Regions from separate parts of the Homo sapiens genome. Here all the other regions are linked to region 6. The links are contacts of gene promoters, found by promoter capture Hi-C in blood cells and fetal thymus (Javierre and others, 2016). All regions are on one chromosome and are shown on one strand. Each heading gives the region's core, a stretch centred on a gene start or on the middle of the fragment in contact. The rest is flanking DNA. Distances are from core to core; before and after follow the strand shown.

Region 1 (3,842 bases), core at 1,154-3,653, 250 kb after region 6:
AGGAAAGCTTCAAGGGGAAGTTTACAAAAATTATAGTGTCCATGATAACATAGGGCTATGGGAGGTTGAGGCTGCAATGAACTCTGATGGTATCACTTCACTCCAGCCTGGTTGACAGAGTGAGATCCTATTTAAAAAACAAAAACAAGTCCGGGCGGGGTGGCTCATGCCTGTAATCCCAGCACTTTGGGAGGCCGAGGCGGGTGGATCACCTGAGGTTGGGAGTTCGAGACCAGCCTGACCAACATAGAGAAACCCCGTCTCTACTAAAAATACAAAATTAGCCGGGTGTGGTGACAGGCGCCTGTAATCCCAGCTACTCAGGAGGCTGAGGTGGGTGAATCACTTGAGCCCGGGAGGCGGAGGTTGCTGTGAGCTGAGATCATGCCATTGCACTCCAGCCTGGGCAAAAGAGTGAAACTGTCTCAAAAATAAAAATAAAAAAGCAGGCTGGGCGTGGTGGCTCAAGCCTGTAATCCCAGCACTTTGGGAGGCCGAGACGGGATCACGAAGTCAGGAGATCGAGACCATCCCGGCTAACACAGTGAAGCCCCGTCTCTACTAAAAATACAAAAAATTAGCCAGGTGTGGTGGCAGGCGCCTGTAGTCCCAGCTACTCGGGAGGCTGAGGCAGGAGAATGGCGTGAACCTGGGAGGTGGAGCTTGCAGTGAGCCGAGATTGCGCCACTGCACTCCAGCCTCGGCGACAGAGCGAGACTCCGTCTCAAAATAAATAAATAAATTTTAAAAACCCCAAAAAACAAAAAAAACCCCAAAAAAACCAAAAAACCCATACACAAATAAACGCTGGGGCCACATAGATGAAAAATTACATACTACCTGCATTCAAGGAACTTAGAGACTGGAGACCAATAGACAAATGACTTTATGATATGACAAATGTCATGCAAAGGGGTGCCTTGCTTTTTCCTGTTCTATACTAGTAGAACCTGACAGCTATTTTGGGAATAGGTGGAGGGAAAGGTGCCACCTGTTAATAAATCTTGTGGGACCTTCCTAGTTATGCAGGCCCTGGTATTGGAGAAAATACCAGGTAAAAAGATTTATTTTGTATGAATTTCCAAAGCTAATCTCTGCAGAATTCTGGGAATTGGATGTTTTTATTTGCATAATGGATTCAGTGTCTTCTGGGCAGAAAGGGAATGGGTACCATCACTCCTAATGCTCTCTGAGATGTTTAGAATTGGGGATCTCTCTGAGTAAAACAGAGGGATCTTGACCAAGGGCAAGTGGGAGAGCTGTAACCATTAAGCTAACCCACATTGAGTTTGAAGAGTGGAAGGTGGTGTGATGATTATGGGTCTGTGGGTCTTGAGCAGCTGAAAATGGTCTTATATCAACCTTCCTGAGTTGACTTGAATCTTGGGACTCACTTGTATGATAAATGAAAGAGGTACTTGGCCATTAAAGCCTGTAACACTGGGGGTTGAGTGAGGAGGTGGCCAAGCAAGGTGTCTCCGGTGTTGTTAGGGACCGAGCAAAGAGGCAGCTGAGCAAGGAGATGGTTGGTGCAGTTTGGAGTTGGGTTACAGACAGAAAGCCTAAGCAGATAAGTAAATATATTTAGGACAATAATGCCAGGGTTATTTAGGACAATAACCCTTTTCTCACTGACAGAGAAAAGTGTTATAAATATGGAAAGGAGAATAGAATGAATCCTGTTGTGTTGGATTGTGATTAGAGGTATTCATATACATTTATGATATATCTATATATCTATGACCATGGATTCTAACTACACACATTTAACTAGACAGAATATTATAGGATCAATATACATGCAAGTGTGCGGGGGTGTTTGTCTATTCATACATTTCCTAACTCTATTTTTTTTTTTTTTTTTTTGAGAAGGAGTCTAGCTCTGTCGCCCAGGCTGGAGTGCAGTGGCCGGATCTCGGCTCACTGCAAGCTCCGTCTCCCTGGTTCACGCCATTCTCCTGCCTCAGCCTCCCGGGTAGCTGGGATTACAGGTGCCGGCCAGCATGCCCGGCTAATTTTTTGTATTTTTAGTAGAGATGTTTCACCGTTTAAGCCAGGATGGTCTTGATCTCCTGACCTCGTGATCCGCCCACCTCGGCTTCCCAAAGTGCTGGGATTACAGGTGTGAGCCACTGCGCCCGGCCATCCTAACTCTATTTAAGAGAGCTTAGAAGCGGTATTTCTCTAGTAGCAAAGAGCACACCAAAATCCAGATCTTTATTTCTTTTTTTTTATTATTATACTTTAAGTTTTAGGGTATATGTTCACAATGTGCAGGTTAGTTACATATGTATACATGTGCCATGTACTATTCTCTTTGAAAAGAAATTAAGCTCCTTGGAGAAATGGCTGACTCTAGGACTTGCACAGGCAAGTACAATATGAACATGGAACATCCTCATGAGCAAAAAAATGAGAAGAATCCTAAAGAATCATGCAGATATAAAACAAACTTGAAGAAACAAGGTTGATGAGTCTTCCCCTAGACCAAACTGGTGTACATTGAGTATTGAATAAAATTACCATTGAATAAAATAGAAATCCACGAGTACATAGGGATGTAAATACATAAATGTGTGAATAAATAGTGAGAAAAGGCCTGGCGCAGTGGCTCATGCCTGTAATCCCAGCACTTTGGGAGGCTGAGGAGGGAGGATCACGAGGTCAGGAGTTTGAGACCAGCCTGGCCGACATAGGGAAACCCCGTCTCTACTGAAAATACAAAAATTAGCCGGGCGTGGTGGCATGTGCCTGTATTCCCAGCTACTCGGGAGGCTGAGGCAGGAGAATCACTTGAACCTGGGAGGCGGAGGTTATAGTGAGTCAAGATCACACAACTGCACTCCAGCCTGGGCAACAGAGGACGACTCTGTCTCAAAAAAAAAAAAAAAGAGAGAGAGAGAGAAAAGAAAACTTCCTTGCAGTATAATGCAATTAATAAATATAGAAAGAATGCTAAAATTAGAAAGTCCTCATTTGGCAACCATCATAGGAATAATGATTTAGGAAAGAATCATCACTAGTTATTATTATTTTTTTAAAGAGATAAGGGTCTCACTTTGTTGCCCAGGCTGGTCTTGAACCCTGGGCTCCAGCAGTCCTCCTGCCTCAGCCTCCCAAAGTGCTGGGATGATAGGCATGGGCCACCATGCCCAGCTCATCAGTACATATTAAAACAATAGGTGAAAAGTAGAAATTTTATTTAGATTATCATATTTAAATTCTAAAGAGTTATTTCTTCTCAGGTTGTCTTTTAGAATTTCTAATATAGTTTTATAAATGCAATAAATGCAACATCTTATATCTCTCAGGTAATCTCTTTTGTTTATTTACATTTTCCTATTCCCTCTATGTTTGTGTATGTTTTTTATTAGCTTGTTTTGCCCCTCCCTTTCAAACTGGAGTCTAATAATTCATATTAAAACATTAGGCAGGCTGGGCGTGGTGGCTCATGCCTGTAATCCCACCCCTTTGGGAGGCCAAGGCAGGCAGATCACTTGAGCTCAGAAGTTCAAGACCAGCCTGTGCAACATGTCAAAAACTCGTCTCTACAAAAAAAATACAAAAATTAGCTAGGCATGGTGGCCCACACTTGTAGTCCCAGTCACTAGGGAGGCTGAGGTGGGAGGATGGTAGAGGTTGCAGTGAGCTGAGGTTGAAAGGCAGAGGTTGCAGTGAGCTGACATCTGCACCACTGCAGTCTGACCTAGAAGACGGAATCAGACCCTGTCTCAAAAACAAAACAAAACAAATGAAACATTAGGTACTACAAAGAAAATTATTAGCTGTGTGTGTGTTGCATGGCTTGTTTACCTTGGGGCTTTTTTTTTTTTTCCTTTTGA
Region 2 (3,893 bases), core at 998-3,497, 210 kb after region 6:
TGAGAAATATTACCATTAATAAATCAAATGGAACACAGTAGTGTGACTATTATAAAGAAATCTACATAGAAGTAACATGAGGTTATGAATAGTTCACAGAAAAACTAAACACAGGCTGGGCATGGTGGCTCATGCCTTTAATCCCAACACTTTGGGAGGTCAAGGTAGGAGGATGGCTTGAGGCCAGGAGTTTGAGACTACCCTGGGCAACATGAGAACCCTTCTCTACAAAAATTTAAAAATCAGCCAAGTGTGTTGGTGCATACCTGTAGTCCCAGCTATTTGGGAGGCTGAAGTGGAAATATCATTTGAGCCCAGGAGTTCAAGGCTGCAGTGAGCTATGACAGCGTCACTGCACACCAGCCTGGGCAAGTGACACCCCGATTCAAAAAAAAATCAAAAAAGAAAAGAGAAACCAAACACACTGGGCTCTAAAAATATATACTGCAGATATACTCAGAATATGTGAGAAATTACTGCTGTTATTTAGTACAGTACTATTATAGCCAAAGATACAACAATGTGCATATCTAAAACTAGAGAACTGATATTACTAATATGACCCATGCAAGGGAATACTGTTACAGCCAAGAAAAATGCGGACGTTCTTTTGATATAGATAGGTCTTACGGCAGACAGTACTTTTTTTTTTTGAGATGGACTCTCGCTCTGTTGCCCAGGCTGAAATGCAGTGGTGCAATCTCAGCTTACCACAACCTCCACCTCCCAGGTTCAAGCCATTCTCTTGCCTCAGCCTTCCCGAGTAACTGGGACTACAGGCACGCGCCACCATGCCCGGTTAATTTTTGTATTTTTAGTAGAGAAGGGGTTTCACTATGTTAGTCAGGCTGGTCTCGAACTCCTGTCCTCGTGATCTGCCCACCTCAGTCTCCCAAAGTGCTGGGATTACAGGTGTGAGCCACCACGCCCAGCCTGTAGATTGTATTTTCTAAGGCAGCTGCAACAAGACATTCTACACCACATTCTTCTTACAGTGTGATGTTGACACTCTTCCCTTGAATCTGTACAGGCCTGTGACTAGAATAGAACAGATGCTATCTATCTATGTGACTTCTGGAGCAAAGTCATAAAAGGCTACTACATGTAGGTGTGTTCTAGCTAACAGCCCCATCTGAGGTCCCAACCAATAGCCAGCACCAACTGCCGGATGTGTTGAGATGATTCTTGCCCCGTAATGAACTGCAAGAGCAAGGAAAAGATCAGAGTGAGAACCACCTACTAAGCCCACTCACCAGAACCATGGAGATGACAAAATAATTTTAAGTCTCTACATTTTGGAGGAGTCATTTGTGTCTCAGCAATAGATAACTAGAACAGCATTAAAGTGAAAAATAAAAAGTGTATTACAGTACATCTGACATATTTCAAATTTTGTAAAAAGGGAGACAAGAATATATAGATTTGAGTATAGTAGTAACTTTGCAAGGATATATAACAAAGTAACATCATCTTTGGGAAAAAGAACTGAGTGGGCTAGATAGAAGATGAGGGGGAGATTTTTCACTGTAAACCTTATAAACTTCTTGAATTTTGACTCACATGAACAAATTAATGCATTTGATTAAAGGCAGTTAAAATATAGCGTGTGACACATGATGATGGCATAAAAATGAAAATGGTGGTGATAATTTAGGAATATGGACAATTTAAATAATCGTCTTATATTCTTTTGTTCTCAAAATACTTTCACATTATTTTCCTTAAGTGATACATAGCAAGAAGGCCCCTACCTGTCAAATACTACATATTATTTAACAGAACACTTGTCATGTGTACTCTAACTATGAGCCAAATTTTCTAGTCTGATAGGTTCTTGCAAGGAGAAATACACACATACACAGTACATTCCAGAACATGAATGGCATTTCAGAAAGATGTCTTTAATCCCAGCTGTCACCTAGTTGCAAAACTTCAAGCATATACTTAACCTTTATTGCTTCAGTTTCCTTGTCTATAAAATTAGTACCTTCCCATATAGCCATGGTAAGGTACAGATGAAACTTCTGAAAATCCTGTTTAAGTTCTAGGAATGTATCACATAACAAGTAATTATTATAAGTGTCCTATCTTTAAATTATCCTTTATTTCCTAGAAGTCACATTTTTCTAAAATTTACAAATTACTTATGAATGCAATAGAGGAGAAAATTCTATTCATGTTATACCTCAAATAAAAACGATAGTAACTAGGTGGAATATATTCTGGCTCTAGTTTTATGCAAAGATAAAGAACAGTTTTTTGACTGAGAAAAGCTGAAGGTGTCTGATAATTATGCAGTGACTAGTCATGTATCAAGATTACCCACTTCTTCTTTGGGGCCCAAAGAATATCCAACAACTACTACTGCGAACACTTAAGGCTTAAAAAACCATGAATAACTAACCGGTTCTTCATCCTGCTTCTACCTTTCCTCAAACGGAGGATGAATGCTGTTTAGCAACACTTACTTCAGATATTCTGATTTGTAGAGCATTCTTATTTTCAAAGTCCAACATATGACTTCAGTAACACTTAACTTTCATCTTGAGGAATTTAGCAACTAGGTAACTAAAGTTTACATATACATCAAGGTAGCCAATGAATTAAAAGACAAAAAATGATGCCTGAAAAAGTGGCTTACGCCTGTATTCCCAGCACTTTGGGAGGCTAAGGCAGGTTGATTGCTTGAGCTCAGGAGTTCGCGACCAGCCTGGGAAACATGGAGAATAGCCATCTCTACCAAAAATACAAAATTAGCCGGGGGCAGGGGCACACATGCCTGTGGTCTCAGCTACTCAGGAGGCTGAGGTGGGAAGATGGCTGGAGCCCAGAAGTTGAGGCTGCAGTGAGCCATGATCATGCCACTGCACTCCAGTCTAGCACAGAGCGAGACCCCATCTCAAAAACAAAAACCTTTAGAAGTACTCTTATTGCTTTTCTTACTCTCACACATCTTTATTCTCCTTCACAAAGAGGTTTGCTGAAAAGGCTTTTGATGTAACTCCAAATGATACTATCCTATCATAAATTTACTCAGCATACTTCATAAACAAGATTATGTATATGCAATGTCAGGTTATTATGGTATATGACCTAAAAAAGGGAGAAACAGTTTGCCAAAATTTCCCATGTTTCTATCAAGTAAGAATTCTTATTCTATTCTAAAAGCAAAATTTTAAAACACTTCCCATCCCACAGCCTCCACCAATTATTATTCAAAACCAAGTGTCTTTCATGTGCCTCTGAGTGTGTCTCCAAAAAGATCAATTATCTGGAAACCTTATATATTCAGAACACAGCCTAGCGCGGTGGCTCATGGCTATATCTCAGCACTTTGGGAGGCCAAGCCAGGAGATCACTTGAGGTCAGGAGTTTTAAGACCTGCTTGGGCAACACAGCAAGACGTCGCCTCTACAAAAATTTCAAAATTAGCCAGGCATGGTGGTGCACACCTGTAGTCCCAGCTACTTGGGAGGCTGAGGTGAGACGACTGCTTGACCCAAGAGGCTGAGGCTGCAGAGAGCCATGATCACATCATTGCACTTCACCCTGGGCAACAGAGCAAGACCCTGCCTCAAAAAAAAAAAAAAAAAAAATCAGAACACAACCAGAAAGCTAGCAAAAGAAGAGTAAATGCAGCCAGAATAAATCTCACAAAGTCCATGCACTAAAGGTTATGCAAATTTACAGATTTCCTCGGAATGTAACTGAGACCACTTTCTATGTATATCTTCTTTTGGAGATTGATTTATATATACATACATATATATATATATAAATTAGTACATAACAAGAAGATCAGTTGGAGATTTAGGCTTAATTTTTAAAAAGTGGCATATAATATCACTTTTAAAAACCTTTAATATATAGCACCAGATTACAATGTTCACTCA
Region 3 (4,292 bases), core at 281-2,780, 160 kb after region 6:
AGTTCCATTTTGAACATGTTGACTTTGATACCTCTTCAGGGAGACACCTAGTTGACAGTTGGGCTTGTCCAAACTTCTTCAGCATTCAGGCAACCTGCTCTAGGACTCTTGTTCTAACTCAGCCTTGGGGTAAGGGAGTGGCATGCAGCTGTGGATTAAACATTTGGGAACTAAAGATATTAGTCAGGAGTGAAGGCAGGGGAAAGAGTGAAGGCAGTCCAGTCAAGATCTACAACTCTCAGGCAGTTAATTGAGACAGCAAGATGGGGTGGGCAGGCTCTACAGAGCAGATAGAGGAGGTGTCCTCGAGAGATGGCCTGAGGTGCTGTAACACTGGGTGGGAAGACATCCCATCTGTACAGTAAGGATAGTCTCCTAAAATGGCTATTTGAAAGTGCCACAAGTTATAAAAATAATTGACAGTCACTCCTTTTACATTTTCATTTCTACTACATAGGCATAAGACAGTTTATTTATTTATTTTAAAGACAGGGTCTCGCTCTGTCACCCAGGCTGGAGTGGAATGGCACAATCATAGTTGACTGCAGCTGACTGCCTCAAACTCCTGGGCTCATGTAACTCTCCTGCCTCCGTCTCCTGAGTAGCTAGGACTACAGGTGTGTGCCACAATGCTCAGCTAATTTTTCTTTCCTTTCTTCTTTTTTTTTTTTTGTTGAAGCGATGGGGTCTCGATATGCGCTGCCCAGGCTGGTCTTGAACTCCAGGCCTCAAGCAATCCTCCTGTCTTGGCCTCCCAAAGTGCTGGGATTACAGACATGAGCCCCTGCATCCAGCAGTAAGATAGTATATATATATATATATATATATATATATATACTGTATATATATACACATATATATGTATATATGTGTATATATATATACTGTCTATATATATACACTATATATATACTGTCTATGTATATATACTGTCTATATATATACATATATGTGTGTGTGTGTGTATATATATATATATATGCAGAGAGAGAAAAACGAAAGACCTCACATATTTATTACTGAACCCAGCCAACCAGTGCCTTCATAGCACACACAGAAAGAAAAAATATAGTCCCAGTGAAACATGTCCAATTGTCCAGATAGTGGTAACATTTTCAGCTTGATATGGTAAGGTGGTCGTGACCTTCACACAACATAAATATGTGCGCCATCTCATGTGGAATTCCTTATAGACTCAGCTTGGTTCTTCTCCAATGTCTCCTTTTGAAGTTCTACTGATTTTATTACCAGTTTTCATCCAAATCCACTGGGGAATGGGACAATTTTGCTTTTGTTTCTTGGCCAGGAAACGCTTAATCCTGAAGGTTTTGTGAGAAGACATGGCGAGAAGCAGAGTCAAGCACACACCATGATGGCGGAGAAAGGAAGAGTAAGACAGTATATTTAACAAATGCTCCTTCTTTCAGAAATTCCAAAGTTTACTTCATACAACTTGTGATGTTATTGCTTCACAGTCCTTCTGAATCATAAAGTGAGTTCTGACTGAGGTTCCAGGTGATGTAGTGAACATTCCACACAGGGAGCTCTACCATCAAGTGAGGGGAATGCCCACCATCGCTATCATCACCATCACCACTACTTCTGCCACAGCCATCACATTCACCTCTACCTCCACCATCACCATCACTACTCAAGTTGGAGAAATAGAGGCCAGGGGAAGGGGATAAAGGGAGGGCAAAGAAAGGTAATTCCAAAGGAACATGAGCACCAATAATGCTTTAAGGTAAACTTTCTTAAATCTTTTTTGGATAATACGTATAGCCAATGAGTAATTATATCTACAGTATTTTTTTCTTCCACTTTCTTAATTATCAGATGAAACCTTGGCTTCCTGTTAAACTGTGTACATTGAAGAGTGATATATCCCTCTGCCTTATACAAAAGAGGAATTCCATTCCTCTCTATGCTCTTATTCTGATGTCTTTATAGTTAATTAATTAATTAATTAACTTATTTTATTTATTTATTTATTTTGAGACAGAGTCTCGTTCTGTTGCCCAGGCTGGAGTGCAATGGCGCGATCTCGGCTCACTGCAAACTCCGCTTCCCGGGTTCAAGTGATTCTCGCACCTCAGCCTCCCGAGTAGCTGGGACTGCAGGCGGCTGCCACCATGCCCGGCTAATTTTTGTATTTTTAGTAGAGACAGGGTTTCACTATGTTGGCCAGGCTGGTCTCGAATTCCTGACCTCAAGTGATAGGCCCGCCTCAGCCTCCCAAAGTGCTGAGATTATAGGCATGAGCCACTGTGCCCGGCCTATTTAATTTGTTATTATGAATGAATGAACATATGAATGATGCAATACATTCTAAGAATGGCCCACGTGTGATAGAGCTGTATTATGGCTGTCCCCGGCGTATGGAAAAATGAAGTTCTGATACAAGTAATTGACTTCAGATCAAAACACACTGTTGCGGTGCTTTATATATTGTCCCAATAGTCCATCAAGGCTCATAAAACTACATCCTTTACATGAATATTACCAAAAAATAGCAATTAAAATATTTTTATATATTTTGGCCAAAAGCTCTCAAAGGCCTTGACAGACCCAGTTTCTTCCCCTACTTCTCTGCTTACCTGTCCATTTCTTTTGCTGGGTCCTCTTGCTCCTTCTGCCGGCTAACTGATCATTCTCTTGGATATTGCCTTGGACCCCTTGCTAATATGTCTCAGCTGTGAGTTTTCCTAGGTCATTTTCTTAGGTCTCATCACACCATTCCTAGCCAGATGAAGGGCTAGGTTCCCGGTTGGGCACAATAATGGGACTTTGTCCTTGGCTCCACCTGACCTGTTTCATTCTGTTATTAATGACCTGGATGAGCATATGGACAGCACTGCAAACTTTTTCCCTCATAGCTTCAAGGGCAGGGTGCATCCTCATCCATCTGTGCATCTCAGCACCTTGCACGGTAGCTGGCCTATTGTAGGTATTTTTTATTTTTATATATTTATTTATTTATTCATTTATTCTGAGATGGAGTTTCGCTCTTGTTGCCCAGGCTGGAGTGCAATGGCATGATCTTGGCTCACCGCAACCTCCGCCCCTGGGTTCAAGCAATTCTCCTGCCTCAGCCTCCCCAGTAGCTGGGATTACAGTCACGCACCACCATGCCCGGCTAATTTTGTATTTTTTTAGTACAGATGGGGTTTCTCTATGTCGGTCAGGCTAGTCTCGAACTCCCGACCTCAGGTGATCCGCCTGCCTCGGCCTCCCAAAGTGCTGGAATTACAGCATGAGCCACTGCGCCTGGCCTATTGTAGGTATTGAAGAAGTGATTGGATTAGACTGTTGAGACTGAAGTATTTATGGGTGAGTTGATATGATTTGAAGATTGGCATTAAAATACTCCAGCAAAAATTGTGATAAAATTAAATAACAGGCTGGGCACAGTGGCTCACACCTGTAAATCGGCACTTTGGGAGGCTGAGGTGGGCAGATCACTTGAGGTCAGGAGTTCAAGACCAGCCTGGCCAACATGGTGAAACCCAGTCTCTACTGAAAATACAAAAATCAGCTAAGCATGGTGGCAGGCACCTGTAGTCCCAGCTACTCAGGAGGCTGAGGCAGAAGAATTGCTTGAACTTGGGAGGCAGATGTCAGTGAGCCGAGATAGCACTACTGCACTCCAGCCTGGGTGACAGAGCAAGACTCCACCTCAAATAAAATAAAATAACATAAAATAAGGTGGATGGGGATATAGATGAAACAGGAGTAAAAAAATATTGATGACAGTCGAAGCTAGTGATGAGTGTATGGGGACTTATTATACTCTATTTTGGTGTAATTTTTAAATTTTCCATTAAAAAAGGAAAAAAAAATCGTTGGTGAGGGAAAGCCATGAAGGCTTCCCAAAATTCAAATAGTTCTAAAAGTATTTATAACGTGGACATTTGTAAATAAAATTTTACTACAGGGATAAGTAGCTGTATCCAATACAGTTGTACGCTTCATGGAATTAAATACAAATAAAGTGGCAAAACATTTCAAATTTATCAGTTTTGCTTGCTTCTTTAATTTTTATTTATATTGCCACGTGTAAATCATGTATGAAGGTTGCTAAAGCCCTTTTGCCTATCACATAGTGCACTATTATTTATCGTTTATCATAGAAGGCTTTCCTTCCTAGAAGTGATTTTTGCATAATTTACAGGATTCAAATTCTACTGGCTAGCATCTTAAAGATATTTACCCTGTTTTCTATGGACATTACATTATTTTCCATTCATTTTTAATTTACATGTATTTCTTCTAATTGTTTTATTTATACAGCT
Region 4 (3,996 bases), core at 11-2,510, 230 kb after region 6:
TTTTCCAGCATGTAAAAATAGAGGTAATTGCCAATGATCAGGGAAATTGAATCACTCCAAGCTATGTCACCTTTACTGATACTGAACAATTGCTCAGTGATGCCACAAAGAATCAAGTTGCAATGAACCCCATGAACACAGTTTTTGATGCCAAATCTGATTGCTGATTGGACACAGACTTGATTATGCTGTTGTCCAGTCTGATATGAAGCATTGGCCCTTCATGGTAGTGAATAATGTTGGCAGGCCCAAGGTCCAAGTAGAATACAAGGGAGAGATAAAAAAAACTTCTGTCCAGAAAGGTGTCCTCTAGGGCCATGGACTGGTACTGGACTGTGGCCTGTTAGGAACTGGCTGCCCAGCAGGAGGTGAGTGGCAGCAAGTCAGTGAAGCTTCATCTGTATTTACAGCTGCTCCCCATCATTCACATTACCACCTGAGCTCCCCCTCCTGTCAGATCAGTGGCAGCATTAGATTCTCATAGGAGTGTGAACTCTATTGTGAATTGCACACACAAGGGATCTAGCACTTCTTATGACAATCTAATGCCTGATGATCTGTCACTCTCTTCCATCACCTCCAGATGGGACCGTCTAGTGGCAGGAAAACAAGTTCAGGGCTCCTACTGATTGTACATTATGGTGAGTTATATAATTATTTCATTATATATTACAATGTAATAATAATATAAAGTGCACAATAAATGTAATGTGCTTGAATTGTCCTAAAACTATCTTCCCCCGATCCTACCCCCTGCAACTTGGTCTGTGGAAAAATTGTCTTCCATGAAACTGGTCCCTGGTGCCAAAAAGGTTGGGGACAGCTGCTCTGTTATTCTGACAAAGATGAAGGAAATGGCAGAAGCCTACCTTGGAAAGAGTGTTACCAATGCTGTGGTCACAATATCAGCTTGGTTTAATGATTCTCAGCATCAAAGCTACCAAAGATGCTGGAACTATTGCTTATCTCAATGTACTGAGAATTATCAATGAGCTAACTGCTGCTTCTATTGCTTATGCCTTAGGCAAAAGGTTGGAGCTCAATGAAATGTGCTGATCTTTGACCTTAGAAGTGGTACTTTTAAATTTTTATTTATTTATTTTCTTGAGATGGATTCTCGCTCTGTCACCCAGGCTGGAGTGGTGCGATCTCGGCTCACTGCAATCTCTGCCTCCCAGGTTCAAGTGATTCTCCTGCCTCAGCCTCCTGAGTAGTTAGGATTACAGGTGCCCACCACCACGCCTGGGTAATTTTTTTTGTATTTTTAGTAGAGACGTGGTTTCACCATGTTGGCCAGGCTGGTCTCAAACACCTGACTTCAGGTGATCTGCCCCCCCTCAGCCTCCCAAAGTGCTGGGATTACAGGTGTGAGCCACTGTTCCTGGCCTTTTTTTTTTTTTTTTGATGGAGTCTCACTCTTGTTGCTCATGCTGGAGTGCAGTGGCGCAATCTTGGCTCACTGCAACCTCTGCCTCCCGGGTTCAAGCGATTCTTGTGCCTCAGCCTCCCGAGTAGCTGGGATTACAGGCATGCACCACCATGCCCAGCTAATTTTCGTATTTTTAGTAGAGACGGGGTTTTTCCATGTTGGCCAGGCTGGTCTTGAACTCTTGACCTCAGGTGATCCGCCTGCCTCAGCCTCCCAAAGTGCTAGGATTACAGGCGTGAGCCATTGCGCTTGACCTGGAAGTGGCACTTTTAATGTGTCAGTCCTCACTGTTGAGGATGGAATCTTTGAGGTGAAATCTACAGCAGGAGACACCCACTTAGGTGGAAAACACTGACAACCAAGTGGTCCACCATTTTATTGCTGAGTTCAAGTACAAGCATACAAAGGACATCAGTGAGAATAAGAGAGCTGTCTGACATCCCCATACTGCTTGTGAACATGCTAAGTACACTCTTTCTTGAGCAGCCAGGCTAGTATTGAGATCCATTTTCTCTATGAATGAATCAATGTCTATACCTCTTACACATGCCCTATTTGAAGAACTGAATGCTGACCTGTTCTGTGACACCTGGACCCTATAGAGAAAGCCCTTCAAGACACCAAACTAGACAAGTCACAGATTCATGATATTTTCCTGGATGGTGGTTCTACTTTTATCCCCAGGATTCAGAAGCTTCTCCAAGACTTTTTCAATGGAAAAGAACTGAATAAGAGCATCAGCCCTAATGAAGCTGTTGCTTATGGTGCAGCTGTCCAAGCAGCCATTCTGTCTGGCAACAAATCTGAAAATGCTCAAGATTTGTTGCTCTTGTATGTCATTCTTCCTTCCCATGGTATTGAAACCGATGGTGTAGTCATGACTGTTCTCATTAAGCATAATACTACCATTCCTTCCAAGCAGACAGACCTTCACTACCTACTCTGACAGGCAGCCTGATGTGCTTATTCAGGTTTATGAAGGTGAGCATGTCATGACCAAGGATAGCAACCTGCTTGGCAAGTTTCAACTCACAGGCATACCTTTGGCACTCCAAGGTGTTCCTCACATTGAAGTCACATTTGATATTGATGCCAATGGCATCTTCAGTGTCTCTGCTGTGCACAAGAGTACAGGAAAAAGAACAAGATTACTGTCACTAATGACAAGGGCCATTTTAGCAAGAAAGACATTAAATGTGTGGTCCAGGAGGCTGAATAGTACAAAGCTGAAGATGAGAAGCAGAGACAGGTGTCATCAAAGAATTCCCTTGAATCCTATGAATTCAACATGGAAGCAACTGTTGAAGATGAGAAACTTCAAGGCAAGATTCACGATGAAGACAAACAGAAGATTCTTGTCAGGCGTAATGAAATTATTAACTGGATAGATAAGAATCAGGCTGTTGAGAAGGAAGAATTTGAACATCAGCAGAAAGAGCTGGAGAGAGTCTGCAATCCCATCATTACAAAGCTCTAGCAGAGTGCAGGAGGAATGCCTAGGGGATTCACTGTTGGTGGATCTCCTCCCTCTGATGGTGCTTTCTCAGGGCCCAACACTGAATAAGCCAGCCCAAGTACAGATGTAGCATTGTTCCACACACTTAAAACACTGAAGGACCCAAATATGTAGCAAATTCTGTGGCAGTTTTTTTTCTTTTTTGATCAGTCAATGTAGTTTAATTTTTCCCAGTCAAAATTTGCCTAAAAAGGCCTGTAATCTCATAAAAAAAGAAGTACATAGAAAGTAAGCCTTTAAAGGAATTGGACAGATCATTCCAAACTGGGGCAGGAAATTGAGTAGTCTTCATGAGGAAGGTGGTGTTTGAGAGATGTCGGAAGATGGCTGAGTCAATAGGGGCAGTGGGCCTTAAACTCCTGTAGAGGAGATACAATCAAATCTATAACACTAAGTTGTTGGAGGGTGCCAGAGTGTCATCCATGCCAGTTCAATATCAATTGTTCGGTTTTACAGTGGTTTATCAAAGCCTTTTTTAGATCAGACCCTGTGCATTCTATTAGAAGGCTTGCTCTTCAAGGAGCATCTAGTTTAGTACACAGACATGGAAACCCACATAGATCATAGTAGGATAAATACTGTTACAAATAAGTTTGAGGTGCTATGGGAGCATGAAAGAGGGAGACCCATGGGCGGGTGCGGTGGTTCACGCCTGTAATCCCAGCACTCTGGGAGGTCGAGGCGGGCGGATCACGAGGTCAGGAGATAGAGACCATCCTGGCTAACACGGTGAAACCCCATCGCTACTAAAAATACAAAAAATTAGCCGGGTGTGGTGGCGGGCGCCTGTAGTCCCAGCTACTCTAGAGGCTGAGGCGGGAGAATGGCGTGAACCCGGGAGGCGGAGCTTGCAGTGAGCCAAGATCGCGCCACTGCACTCCAGCCTGGGCGCGACAGAGTGAGACTCCATCCCAAAAAAAAAAAAAAAAAAAAAAAAAAAAAAGGAGACCCAACCCAGTTTGAGTGGCAAGACGTGCTACTGGGAAGAAGTAATCCCTGGGTTGAGTCTTGAAGAGCATTTACCAGGCAAGGAGGGCAGAGGATGAGTTGG
Region 5 (4,291 bases), core at 1,576-4,075, 180 kb after region 6:
AGTTAAAAAGAATTCCTTCCTCTTCAATTTTCTGAAAGTTTGAGAAGAATTGGTGTTAATTCTTTTTTATAAGTTTGGTAGAATTCAGCAGTGAAGCCATCTGGTCCCGGGCTTTTCATTTGGGGGACTTTTTATTACTGACTCAATCCTGCTACTTGTTATTTGTCTGTTCAGGTTTTCTATTTCCTCCTAGTCCAATCTTGGTAGGGTTGTAAGTGTCCACGTGTTTATCCATTTCCTCTAGGTTTTCTAATTTGTTAGGGTATAGTTGTTCAAATAGTCTCTAATGATCTTTTGTTTTTTAGTGGCATCTGTTGTAATGTCTCCTTTTTCATTTCTGATTTTTTTGGGATTTTCTCTCTTTTTTCTTGTTTAGGCTAGCTAATGGTTTATTGACTTTTAAAATCTTTTCATAAAAACAACCTTTTGTTTTATTGCTCCTATGTGTATTTTTTAGTGTCTACCTTGGTTAATTCTGCTCTGATCTTTATTTTTTTTGCTTCTATTAATTTTGAGTTTAGTTTGTCCTGGATTTCCTAGTTTCTTGCAGTGCATTGTTACGTTGTTTATTTGGAGTTTATTACTATAAATTTCCCTATTAGTATCACTTTTGCTGCATCCCATAGGTTTTGGTATGTTATATTTTGATTTTCATTTGTTTCAAGAAGTTTTTGATTTCCTTTATAATTTCTTCACTGACCCTATGATTGTTGAGGAGCATGTTGTTTAATTTCCATGTATTTGTACAATTTCCAATGTTCCTCTTGCTATTGATTACTAGTTCTATTCCATTGTGGTATGAAAAGATACTACTTTTAAAAAATCATATATGTCTCTAACTTTTGAACAAATGGCATACAGTTATAATAACTTATATCCATGCCTGCTAATTGCAACATCTGTGCCATTTTGGAGTTGGTTTCAATTGATTGACTTTTCACTTATCGTGGGTGTTATTTTCCTTCTTATTGGCATGCCTGGTGTACTAGTTTCCTAAGGCTGCTGTAACAAGTTACCACGAACTTGGTGGCTTAAAACAGCAAACATTTATTCTCTCATGCTTCAGGAGGCCAGATGCCTGAAGTCAAGGTGTTCACAGGGCCATGCCTCTTCTAGGGTAGAAATCCTTCCTTGGGTCTTCCAGCTTATGGTGGCTCCAGGCATTCCCTCACCCACAGCTGTATAATTCCAGTCTCTGCCTTGACTTTCACATGGCATTTTACTGTTCCACCCATGTGTCTCTACTCTGTGTATCTCTTACAAAGACATTTCTCATTGGAATTTGGGCCCGCCTGGATAATCCAGAATGGTATCATTTTGAAATCCTTAACTACAACCGCAAAAACTTTTTTTTTTGCCAATAAGAACACATTGACAGGTTGTGGGTGTTAGGAGTAAATTTGTGTTTTTGGATATATGGTTTTCAGCTTTGTTTTGGGATGAAATTACTTGGAAATAGTTTGATCCTTTTAGATCCTGTTTTTGTAATTTATTAGGCAAGTCCAGGGCAGTGTTGAGTTTGGTCCAATTATTCTCTACTACTGAGGCAAAACATTCCTAAGCATGCTACCTAATGATTCACGAATTAATATCTTTTCAGTCTGGCTGGTTGGAACAGGAATTATTCTCCAGCCCTATGAGTCCTCAGCAATGCTCCCTCTAATCCTTTTCAAATGTTTCTTTTCCCAGTGTTGTGGAGTTTCCTCACACACATGTATTCACCAGTACCCATCTAAACACTTGAGAAAGACTCACTTGAGAAAGACCCTCGAAAGATATCTGGAATACTCTGTGCCTCTCTTTTCTCTCTGGTATTCTGTCCTCAGCAAGCTCTAGCTGCATTGGTTTCCCTGGACTCTTGGCTCTGTCTCTTCAAAACAGATGAAAGTGTAAATCCAGTCACTGTTATTGTATCTTGACCAGAAAGATAAGAAATTCCATATAATATATGTTTAGGGGAATTATTTGAGAGATGTGTCATCCAGAGTACTGCATTTGCTCCTGCCTGGTGTCTGCCTGTTGACACTATCAATATGTACTAAGTGATCCATTTGAGGCTTTCAGACTACAAATACATGAAGGTTGGTGGTTTCACATTCTTTGTTTTGCAGAGATGGGGTGTTGTTATATTGCCCAGGCTGGTCTCGAACTCTTGGACTCAAGTGATCCTCCCATTTGGCCTCCCAAAGTGCTCTGATGCTTTGATGAGCTTTAATCTTCTAATGTATTAAACATGTGATTATCCTTTCCTCACAGGATTACAGATGTGAGCTACAATGTCAAGCCAGTTCCAAGTTCTTTGTAGCTTCCTTTCTTCCCTCTTTCTCTCTTTGGCCTAATTTGAAATAGTCATTTTTTCTGTAGTCTGTGTGGTGGCAACAGGCATAGGTTTATTTTTGGTTCACTGTTTCAGTGAGGCCATCATCCTCTGGGGTCCTAGCTTTGTTGTGGTGAGCCATTTAGTCTTCCCCATCTTGGACAATCCCTAGGTTTTGTCTCCTGTTTCATAAACCTGTGATTTTTTTTTTTTTAAGACAGAATTGGGCCTGGTGCAGTGGCTCACTCCTGTAATCCCAGAACTTTGGGAGGCCGAGGTGGGTGGATCACAAGGTCAGGAGTTCAAGACCAGCCTGGCCAACATGGTGAAACCCAATCTCTACTAAAAAATACAAAAATTAGCCGGGGGTGGGCACCTGTAATCCCAGCTACTTGGGAGGCTGAGGCAGAGAATTGCTTGAACCTGGGAGGTAGAGGTTGCAGTGAGCTGAGATCGCACTACTGCACTCCAGCCTGGGCGACAGAGCGAGACTCCGTCTCAAAACAAACAAACAAACAAACAAACAGTCTTGCTCTGTTATCCACACTGGAGTAGAGTGGCTCGATCTTGGCTCACTGCAACCTCCACCTCCCGGATTCAGGGTCCAAGCGATTCTCCTGCCTCAGCCTCCCAAGGAGCTAAGATTACTGGCATGTGCCACCATGCCCAGCTAATTTTGTTTTATGTAAAGACGGGGTTTCACCATGTTGGCCAGGCTGGTCTCAAACTCCTGACCTTAAGTGATCCACCTGCTTTGGCCTCCCAAAGTGCTGGGATTATAGGTATGAGCCACTGCACCTGGCCACCTTGTGAAAATTTAACGTGGATTCGGCTCAATACATGGTCTCAGGTAAAAGCTGGTTTCTGCTCTTGGTATACCTGAATTTAGTCATTATTCGTCTTGAGTATTTTGCACTTTCTGCTATATTATCCAGGATATTTACTTGTTCTCAGTGGAAGGGTCAATCTAAGATCCAGACTGCCCCATTACTGCTCCTTTTTGAGTGCTTTAGTGTATCTGTTATTCCAATATCTTTATGTCTAGATTGTACATTTGTTAATAATTCTTTTTAATGAGGCCCTGTAAACTACTTTTATTTCTAGTGTCCTAGCTTTCTGTCTCATAAGCTCACAGTAGATTCAGAGACCAGGCACAACTTTACCCACCATTTCACAACTTTACCCACTATTTCTCTATTACTCTTTTTCTTTTTCTTTTGAGATGAGGTTTTGCTATGTAGCCAGGAGTGCAGTGGTTATTCTTAGGCTCACTCAGAGGATACTGCAGCCTGGAACCCCTAGCCTCAAGCGGTCCTCCTGCCTCAGCCTCCCAAGTAGCTAGGCCTTCAGCCTGCGCCACCACAGCTGGCTATCACAATTTTTAAATTGGTGGCCACCTGAAGCCCCCTTCCCTTCTCAAGATTGCCACGTCACTCCTTTCATCTAATCTTCAAAATCTGTGAGGAAAGGATAATCACATTTTTAATATATCAGAAGACTAAAGCTCATCAAAGCATTATACAAGGTTATATAACCAGTGAGTGAGCCAGGACTCCAGTCTTTCAGGCTTGAAGTCTGGTTACTTCAAATGAACAGTACTAGCTTTCTCCTGTTTTTAGGATATCTTCATTTTTATGTGGACCTTTCTGTCTTCATTCATCACTAATGCGGTATTTGCAGACCTAAGTTGTCTTTCTTCTCTAGATGTGATTGTTTCCATGGGTGTGAAAATGTGTTCATTTGGACTAGTTTAATAAGTTGCTTTTAAAATTATCCCCATCCCTACCGTTTTCCCCTAAAGTCTAATTCAACTCCAGAATCTCCTTCAATTTTGTGCAGGAAAAAAGCCAAATTCTTAACACTGACATTTTATATACCTTCCCTTCCCCTTCTCCGTTTTTTTTGATGGTGGTGCTGAGGAACTCTCACATGCTTACAAACCTGATTCTGAGAACACATTCAACAAATATTTCA
Region 6 (2,534 bases), core at 1-2,500:
CGTAAGCCACCGTGCCTGGCCTATAATGTTTTTAAAGATTATAAAGATTGAATGTCCCTTATCCAAAATGCTTGGGACCAGAAGTGTTTTGGATTTATTTTTTAAATTTTGGAGTATTTACATTATATCAGTTCATCATCCCTAATTTGAAAATCTGAAATCCAAAACCCTCCAGTTAGCATTTCCTTGGAGCATCATGACTGCACTAAAAAAGTTTTGGATTTCAGATTTTCAGATTAGGGATACTGAACCTGTACAAGATTCTTTCACATGTCAGATATAAGCCATCAGTTGATCACTGACAAGTAAATAGATGGTAATATTTAAGTTCCCAGGTTTTTATTTACAGATTTTATAATGTAGGAAAACTACAGAATGACCTTTTGGTCATTCACTTTTTTAGTTTGAATTCTAAAGTTCTTGAAATTCAAATTTCCACAAAGTAAAACTACTTTTCTCATTTATTTTTTAAATTCTCAGATCAGATACCTACTATTCCTCAAGACACACTGGGAGTTGATTTTGATTCAGGTGAAGCTAAGTCTACTGATAATGTCTTACCTAGAACTGTATCTGTTCGTAGCAGTTTAAAGAAACATTGTAACAGTATATGTCAGTTTGATAGCTTGGATGATTTTGAAACCAGTCATTTGGCAGGGAAGTCTTTTGAATTCGAAAGAGTTGGATTTTTAGACCCACTAGTAAACATGCACATACCTGAAAATGTACAACACAATGCTTGTCAATGGAGCAAGGACCAAGTTAACTTATCACCAAAGCTGATTCAGCCAGGAACGTTTACTAAAACAAAAGAAGACATTTTAGAATCTAAATCTGAACAAACTAAAAGTAAGCAAAGAGATACACAAGAAAGAAAAAGAGAAGAGAAAAGAAAAGCTAACAGGAGAAAATCAAAACGTATGTCAAAATATAAAGAGAATAAAAGCGAAAATAAAAAAACTGTTCCCCAAAAAAAAATGCACAAATCTGTCAGTTCCAATGATGCTTACAATTTTAATTTGGAAGAGGGTGTTCATCTTACTCCTTTCCGACAAAAAGTGAGCAATGACTCTAATAGAGAAGAAAACAACGAGTCTGAAGTGAGCCTCTGTGAATCAAGTGGTTCAGGAGATGATTCCGATGACCTCTATTTGCCCACTTGCAAGTACATTCAGAATCCCACGAGCAATTCAGATAGACCAGTCACCAGGCCTCTAGCTAAAAGAGCACTGAAATACACAGATGAAAAAGAGACGGAGGGTTCTAAGCCAACAAAAACTCCTACCAGTAAGTGATCTACTTGTTTACCTGTATTTTTAATGTTCGTGATAAATGATCACTCCTGATGCTTATATACTATACTTACCATCTGTTTCTCTGGTGGAGGTTGGAGACTTACCATCTGTCTCTCTTTGGTGGAAGTTATGGTCTGATTAAACAGTGGGGGGCTGGGTGTGGAAATCACAGTTGTATTGCTCTGACCTAATTCAGAGATTGCTTGTTATGGAGACAGAATTTTTATTTTCAGTAAATTAGGACTCCCAAGGGGACAGAGGGACTTTTTTGTAGACTTAGGTTGAATTGAAGTAGCTTTTATACACTTAACTGAAGTATCCCCTTGAAAGTGAAATCAAATTTGAATCCAGTGACTTGTTATTTTAATGGCCTTGTTTTATATTAAATTTGACAGGAACCGTGATTTAAAATAATCTTCTAGTTAGTGAAGATTTCCTCAATTGATAGGCTTAGTATTCTTTTGTACGACATCTCTAAAAACTGGCTCAGAAAATATTTTATTAGATCAAAAGTAGGCATAGTTCAAATGTTCGTAATACAACCTACACCTGTCCACAAAGATTCTCATTTGGCAATTTTAGTTAATACAAGTAAAACTAACATTTATAGTCAAGTTGTATCATTTTCAAAATATTGTCACATCATTTTATTTGATCCTCAGAACAATTCTGTGAAGTATAGGTGTTATGATGCTTATTTTGTTTGTAAGGAGATTAAAACCTTAAAAACCAAACCAACTTTCTAAATCGGCCAGTTAGTCAGTGGTAGCAGGCAAGTATCTTTTTTAAAAATATGCTGTAAGCCGGGCGGGTTGGCTCACGCCTGTAATCCCAGCACTTTGGGAGGCTGAGGTGGGCGGATCACCTGAGGTCAGGAGTCCAAGACCAGCCTGGCCAACATGGTGAAACCCCATCTCTACTAAAAATACAAAAAAATGAGCCAGGCCTGGTGGTATGTGCCGGTAATCCCAGCTACTCGGGAGGCTGAGGCAGGAGAAAAAGAATTGCTTGTACCCAGGAAACAGAGGTTGCAGTGAGCCGAGACCATGCCATTGCGCTCCAGCCTAGGCAACAAGAGCGAAACTCAGTCTCAAAAAAAAAAAAAGCAAAAATGCTATAATGATGTTAGAATAAATCAAACATGATTGTCAAAGTGTTGATAATTATTGGACCTGGGTAACTCAGAGTTTATTATACTGTTATTGCCATCTTTGTGTACATTTAAAAATGTCCAGAAAA

Evidence for each region. Contacts are between HindIII fragments. The CHiCAGO score rates a contact against its expected background, and 5 or more counts as called.
Region 1: a contact is called between a fragment that was not itself captured here and the fragment with the promoter of SGO1-AS1 in region 6, in 1 of 17 cell types (neutrophils). The highest score is 8.7, in neutrophils.
Region 2: a fragment that was not itself captured here is called in contact with the fragment with the promoter of SGO1-AS1 in region 6 in 6 of 17 cell types (neutrophils, total CD4 T cells, non-activated CD4 T cells and 3 more); the score reaches 10.5 in neutrophils.
Region 3: a contact is called between the fragment with the promoter of PP2D1 here and the fragment with the promoter of SGO1-AS1 in region 6, in 9 of 17 cell types (neutrophils, total CD4 T cells, non-activated CD4 T cells and 6 more). The highest score is 12.0, in neutrophils.
Region 4: a contact is called between a fragment that was not itself captured here and the fragment with the promoter of SGO1-AS1 in region 6, in 1 of 17 cell types (non-activated CD4 T cells). The highest score is 7.0, in non-activated CD4 T cells.
Region 5: a fragment that was not itself captured here is called in contact with the fragment with the promoter of SGO1-AS1 in region 6 in 1 of 17 cell types (neutrophils); the score reaches 7.3 in neutrophils.

Annotation. Positions count from the first base shown.
Region 1 is chr3:19,923,266-19,927,107 of GRCh38, reverse strand. The region is part of intron 1 of EFHB (EF-hand domain family member B); the gene reads left to right. Among named protein-coding and RNA genes, the nearest start is that of EFHB, 9.0 kb to the left of the region's middle. The HindIII fragment of the contact is 4,788 bases long and covers 10-3,842 here.
Region 2 is chr3:19,959,329-19,963,221 of GRCh38, reverse strand. The region is part of intron 2 of RAB5A (RAB5A, member RAS oncogene family); the gene reads right to left. Among named protein-coding and RNA genes, the nearest start is that of RAB5A, 14 kb to the right of the region's middle. RefSeq lists an enhancer at 2,236-2,405. The HindIII fragment of the contact is 5,997 bases long and covers 1-3,893 here.
Region 3 is chr3:20,009,502-20,013,793 of GRCh38, reverse strand. PP2D1 (protein phosphatase 2C like domain containing 1) reads left to right here and starts at 1,530. Exons shown (of 3, transcript NM_001252657.2): 1 at 1,530-1,744. The coding sequence starts at 1,722. It also overlaps the pseudogene RPL39P18. The HindIII fragment of the contact is 22,515 bases long and covers 1-4,292 here.
Region 4 is chr3:19,939,263-19,943,258 of GRCh38, reverse strand. It overlaps a transcript of EFHB not described here and the pseudogene HSPA8P18. Among named protein-coding and RNA genes, the nearest start is that of RAB5A, 5.8 kb to the left of the region's middle. The HindIII fragment of the contact is 1,731 bases long and covers 395-2,125 here.
Region 5 is chr3:19,992,284-19,996,574 of GRCh38, reverse strand. The region is part of intron 2 of PP2D1 (protein phosphatase 2C like domain containing 1); the gene reads left to right. Among named protein-coding and RNA genes, the nearest start is that of PP2D1, 18 kb to the left of the region's middle. The HindIII fragment of the contact is 6,106 bases long and covers 1-4,291 here.
Region 6 is chr3:20,173,002-20,175,535 of GRCh38, reverse strand. SGO1-AS1 (SGO1 antisense RNA 1) reads right to left here and starts at 1,250. Exons shown (of 4, transcript NR_132785.1): 1 at 1,011-1,250; 2 at 718-801. It overlaps SGO1 (shugoshin 1), which reads left to right. Exons shown (of 8, transcript NM_001199251.3): 6 at 481-1,287. The HindIII fragment of the contact is 5,926 bases long and covers 1-2,534 here.